Regions from separate parts of the Homo sapiens genome. Here region 2 is linked to region 1. The links are contacts of gene promoters, found by promoter capture Hi-C in human tissues and cell types (Jung and others, 2019). All regions are on one chromosome and are shown on one strand. The core of a region is centred on a gene start or on the middle of the fragment in contact, and the rest is flanking DNA. Distances in the headings are between cores, read along the strand shown.

The links. Contacts are between HindIII fragments. The study calls those that stand out against the background at their distance.
Region 2: a fragment that was not itself captured here is called in contact with the fragment with the promoter of PLIN1 in region 1 in 2 of the 25 tissues and cell types used here (bladder and liver).

Annotation. Positions count from the first base shown.
Region 1 is chr15:89,677,998-89,680,814 of GRCh38, forward strand. It overlaps PLIN1 (perilipin 1), which reads right to left and starts at 1,370. Exons shown (of 9, transcript NM_002666.5): 1 at 1,254-1,370. The HindIII fragment of the contact is 12,360 bases long and covers 1-2,817 here.
Region 2 is chr15:89,833,966-89,836,782 of GRCh38, forward strand. ARPIN-AP3S2 (ARPIN-AP3S2 readthrough) reads right to left here. Exons shown (of 10, transcript NM_001199058.2): 10 at 1-1,678. The coding sequence ends at 1,550. It overlaps AP3S2 (adaptor related protein complex 3 subunit sigma 2), which reads right to left. Exons shown (of 6, transcript NM_005829.5): 6 at 1-1,678. The coding sequence ends at 1,550. It overlaps LOC124903552 (a long non-coding RNA gene), which reads left to right and starts at 1,944. Exons shown (of 2, transcript XR_007064754.1): 1 at 1,944-2,817. The HindIII fragment of the contact is 6,289 bases long and covers 1-2,817 here.

The DNA.
Region 1 (2,817 bases), core at 120-2,619:
ATCCACCTGCCTAGACCTCCCAAAGTGCTGGGATTACAGGCATGAACCACCACACTGGCTAATTTTTGTATTTTTAGTAGAGATGGGGTTTCATCATGTTGGCCAGGCTGGTCTCGAACTCCTGGCCTCAAGTGATCTGCCCACCTTGGCCTCCCAAAGTGCTGTGATTACAGGCAAGAGCCACCATGCCCGGCCAAGAATAATGTTTCCTATAAGAGTTCAGGTTAAGAGGCCAGGCGCGGTGGCTCAGGCCTGTAATCCCGGCACTTTGGGAGTCCAAGGCAGGCAGATCACCTGAGTTCAGGAGTTCAAGACCAGCCTGGGCAACATGGTGAAACTCCGTCTCTGCTAAAAATACAAAAATTAGCCAGACGTGGTGGTGGGCAGCTGTAATCCCAGCTACTTGGGAGGCTGAGGCAGGAGGATCGCTTGAGCCTGAGAGGTGGAGGTTGCAGTGAGCTGAGATCCTGCCACTGCACTCCAGCCTGGGTGACAGAGGGAGACTCTGTCTCAAAAAAAAAAAGGAGTTCAGGTTAGGAAATAAAAAATGCAGGTAGCCATAAGAGATAAAAAGTTTTAGATAAAATCTTAAGGCTCTTAAATGAGGGTCCAAAAGAGACTAAAACAAGAAGTTTCAAGCTGGGTGCACTGGCAAGCACCTGTAATCCCAGCTACTGAGGCTGACATGGGAGAATTGCTTGAGCCCAGGAGTTTGAGATCAGCCTCGGCAATACAGTGAGATGCCCATCTCTAAAAAAATAAATAAACAAGTTAAAGGTTTCATCTTTGAAAAGGCTCTGGGTTAATTCCTCTATTTCTCTCTTTCTCTCTGTCTGTCCCTCTCCCCCTCTCCCTATCTGTTTTTTGAGACAGGGTCTCAATCTGTTGCCCAGGATGGAATGTGGTGGCACGATCATGGCTCAATGCAGCCTTGACCTCCTGGGATCAAGGTACCCTCCCACCTCAGCCTCTCATGTAGCTGGGACTACAGGCATGCACCACAATGCAGGGCTAATTTTTTCTCTTTTTTTATAGAGACAGGATCCCACTGTGTTGCCCAGGTTGTTCTTGAACTCCTGGGCTCAAGTGATCCACCTGCCTTGGCCACCTGCAGTGCTGGGATTAAAGGCATGATCCACTGTGCCTATCCAATTCCTCTATTTCTAGATTCTGGTATCTATACCAGAATCTCTCCCTCAGTAGTTTCCCTGCAGAGTTTTTCATCCCCAGCAAAATCCCCAAGAGGCCCTTACCTTCAACTTCTTCCCTTTAATGTTCATAAACAAGCCATGTAAGGCAGGTGCCCCAGGACCCCAACACTCACTCCGGCTGACCGCCACCTCAGTCTCACAGAGCCCAGGCTGCAGAGTGTCTCCTCAGGCAGAAACAATTCCTGTCACTCCTGGGAGGCTTGGGCAATGCTGCTTCCACCTCCCAGCTAGAGGAGGGCAGAGAGGGAGAGACAACAGGGTCAGCCAGTTGTCATGGTTATATGACCCAGGGTTCCCCAGGCATATCCTAACTTCTCTAAGGACATTTAGCAAACAAGGAGGTAGGTGGCAGAGCTGAAGGAGATCCAGGCTCAGAGGACTTAGTATTCCAGAGCCATGAAGCATCAGTTCTGTAATGTTCCTGCCCTCAATTCACAAAAATCTGCTTTCCAGAAAGAAGGTATAGGGATAGACATCATTAAACTCAAAAGCTCTAAAGTTCTATATACCTCTGCAATCTTTTGGCTCCTTTTCCATAGAGGGTCTTGTGGGAGTTTTCAATCCATTTCTCTCATCTTTTCTTATTTACTAGCAAGACTGAATGCTGAACAGTAAAATTTAAACCCACACAGAAGAGTTCATCTGAATGTATTCATCTTTGATTATGGAGATAAATTGCCCTCAGTGAAGAAGCGACAGAGCCGGGAGTTGAGTTTTTGACAATATAGCCTTTGAGTTGAGGGAGGAATTCCCACTTCTTAGAATTCAAAAAAATTTATTGAACTTTACCTGGCCTAAGATGCTACCAGAATGAAGAGTAGGAGAGCCAAGTAGATTTTTATTCTCCTGGGTCTGGATAAGCGACAGTGTTGACTAGGATTCTATCACTAATCAAGAGCACCCAGACAGCCAAGAATTAGCACCACTCAACCCTTCTTTACCCAGGACTCAAGCACAAGCCCAAGTTCTAGTTCCTGGCTTTAGATATGATGGAGGACTATGGTATAAGCCATAGCTTTCAGATTAACTAAGAAGGGCCTCTTCATGAAAACAGACAATAGGAAAACAAAACTTATTTTCTTTGTTGCTGGTGGAATTATATGTATTGTTGACTCTGTTAAGTCACACAGTGTGGGCAAGAGAAGAAAGAGGCAGGGGTGGGGAATTATGAAAGATCCTTGGTAATAAATTACGTATCTGTGATGCAATAAAGTAGGGAATGAGAAGGCAGGAAAGGGAGGAGTCAAGCAGGGAGGCTTCAAAGGAGTAATACGCTATACGTTTAATACTTATTGATCCAACCTGTGCTTTTCAAATGTAAGGCAGTAGAGAAGACAAAGTATTTAAAGAAGTGGCCTCTGCCCTCACCTCAAGGTTCAGCACAAATTATCTGTGAGGCTGTGACTGGACAGCAACCTGAGCCAAAGGGCAGTTTTCAGCCTTCAGAGTAGTGGCTTTGGGCCAGAGGGAACATAGGGCTTTGTGCCTGAAAGCTCTGCCAAATCAAATAGTCCTTTGGCTGCTTTAGCTGGGAGTGCAGAATGTGGGTGAGAGGTGAGAAGTGGTGAAAGGGCCTAGGAGAGTCCCGAGGGAAGACAGAAGTGTT
Region 2 (2,817 bases), core at 150-2,649, 160 kb after region 1:
ACTGCGAAGCAGCCCTCATCTTAAGGTGGCTCAACACCACACCTGAGATCTAGCCCATGCGACAGTATGGAAGCAGGAGGCCCTACTCCACCACAGAAAGAACATTTATGGGCGCCTAAGCCCTGGGAGAATGGCACCTGAGGGAACAGAGCGTGCCCACAAGCAGACCTTGGGGAGGGAGAAGAGGCAGCCCTGCTCCTAGTCGCAGCCAGCGTGCGTCATGTCCAGGCCCCACAAGGGTGACCCTGGCTCAGGTTCTCATGCTCCAGAAGCTGGCCCAGGTGGCAGTGGGTTCCCTATGGAGGCAGCTCATCATTCACAACACAGCAACAAACCTTCTGCTCTCATGAGGAGAATGTATTTTAAACTTGGGAAGAGTCATAATTCTGGGATGTTTCACATGTTGTCAGCTTTAACCTTCTACAGACACAGGCCCTCTCCTCTGTGAGGAGGGACCTCTGGCATGTGTGGGTGTGTGGTGGGTCCCTCTCCCTATTAGCAGAAATGTGTTGGGCATGAGCCAGGTTTATGATTTGGATTGTGTCCTGCACATAACACCTGTGAGAATACAACTGGGACTAGGACAATGCGGGAAGCATATTCTTCATGAGGCGGTAACCAAAAGGCTTGGCTATACCAAAGGATTCTGGTGGCCGGGCACGGTGGCTCACACCTGTAATGCCAGCACTTTGGGAGGCCAAGGCGGGTAGATCACTTGAGGTCCAGGAGTTCGAGCCCAGCCTGGCCAACATGGTGAAACCCTGTCTCTACTAAACATACAACAATTAGCTGGGCATGGTGGTGGGTGCCTGTAATCCCAGCTACTGGGGAGGCTGAGACAGGAGAAATGCTTGAACCCGGGAAGCAGAGGTTGCAGTGAGCCGAGATTGCACCACAGCACTCCAGCCTGGGTGACAGAGCAAGACTCCACCTCAAAAAAAAAAAACCACAAAAAAACACAAAAGGATTCTGGGTGTAACAATCTCAGTAGAGCCAGCGGGTGACTCTGGTTCTCCTAAAATTCTGCCCTTACTTGCCACTCACCACACCCCCAGATCTGAAGGGCCAGCCCTTTTCTACCTATGACACCTCACCAGCAAGTAAAGGGCACAGGACCTCAGAAGTCTGTGGTGCTAAGGATGAAGACTCTACTCAGAGAAGGTGCTCAGCCCTAGTGAGGAGGTTCTGGGAAGCAGGTGGGCCTGCTCAATGCAGTCCCTAACCCTTGGGAGCATCCATGTGAGAGGTAAAGGTGCAAATGACTTGGGCATGTTGACTCCCTACTGAGGAAGGCAGGGCCCCTCACATCTGCAGTGGCCGTATGCATCAGAGAACGGCATGACTGCACATGTGAGAACTGGGTGCACCCGAGCAGTGTCAATAGGAATCCCTTCCCTATTCCATGCCAAACAGTCTTCCCCAGACACAAAGTTTCCAGGTCCTGAGGCTTGACTCTTCTAAGGCTCAAAATGGGTTCTGTTTCCAGACGTGCTTGCCTTGCTTGTCTTTGCTTGTCTTAAGGACTCTATTTCAGGCCAATACTTGATCCTCAGACAAACTGGGACAGGTTGGGAACTTTGATGTTGAGATCGCCAATGTTGATGTTCCGAGGAATCTCTGGCAGGTTGATGTTTTTCACAGCAGACACAGCCCGCGCAGGGGCTGCTGAAAGGCCACCCTAAGAAGAAATGAGAGGCGAGTATGAGACAAATTCTCACTGTTATCTGCTTAATGCTAAAAAAAAAAAAAAAAAAAAAGCAAAAACAAAAACAAACAAGCAGGATGGGTGTGGTGGCTCACGCCTGTAATCCCAGCACTTTGGGAGGCCGAGGTGGGTGGATCACCTGAGGTCAGGAGTTCGAGATAGGCCTGGCCAACATGGTGAAACCCCATCTCTACCAAAAATACAAAAATTGGCCAGGAGTGGTGGCGGGCCCCTGTAGTCCCAGCTACTAGGGAGGCTGAGGCAGGAAAATCGCTTGAACTCAGAAGGCGGAGGTTGCGGTGAGCTGAGATCACGCCACTGCACTCCAACCTGGGCAACAGAGTGAGACTCTGTCTCAAACAAACAAACAAACAAAATAACAGGTGAAGGATGCCTAGAAAAATTCCAAACTGAGCACACACAACTGAAGTTTTAACTTTCCCCCCTTATTCCTCAAAAGTAGCCAACAAAACAATCTTGAGGTTAGATGGGGTTTGGCACAGGGATCCAAAGCCTGCAGTCCTACTAGACTACCAGCTCCTCAGAGGCGGAGTGTGGCCTATACAGTTTCACAGCCCCAGCCTCTCACAGTACCTGGCACATGGTGGGTACCCAATAAATGCTGAAATAATCTAAGGTGATTTGTCAGGGGCACTTTTCTGGTTACAAAACAAAACAAAACCCTTTCCTCAAGAGACCAAAGACTCTTATTGAAACGTGCAAAGTCACCGGGAAGTTCTTAAAAGGAAAAGGACAGTCACAGCTCTAGGGCAACTGCTTGCCAACTAATAATGTGAGATGAAAAGAGCTGGCTTTGGAAGTGTCATGTGGCAACAAGCTGGGAGAAGGTGGGGGGTATCACAGATAAAGAAGAGCTGGTGACAAAACGCAAAGAGTATGCACATCTACAGTGAACCCCCACCTGGCAGGCTCACCCCCACGTGGAGGGAACGGCAAAAGTGGATGAAAACTCTCTCACAATCATTTTTCCCCTATTGCCTTCTTTCCGGATACCAACTCTGCTTCTGCCCTCACCCAGCAAGTCTCCATTTCTTCTCATTTCCAACCCCCTTGCCTCTGACTCACTTACTATTCCTGGAATCTTCCCAGCC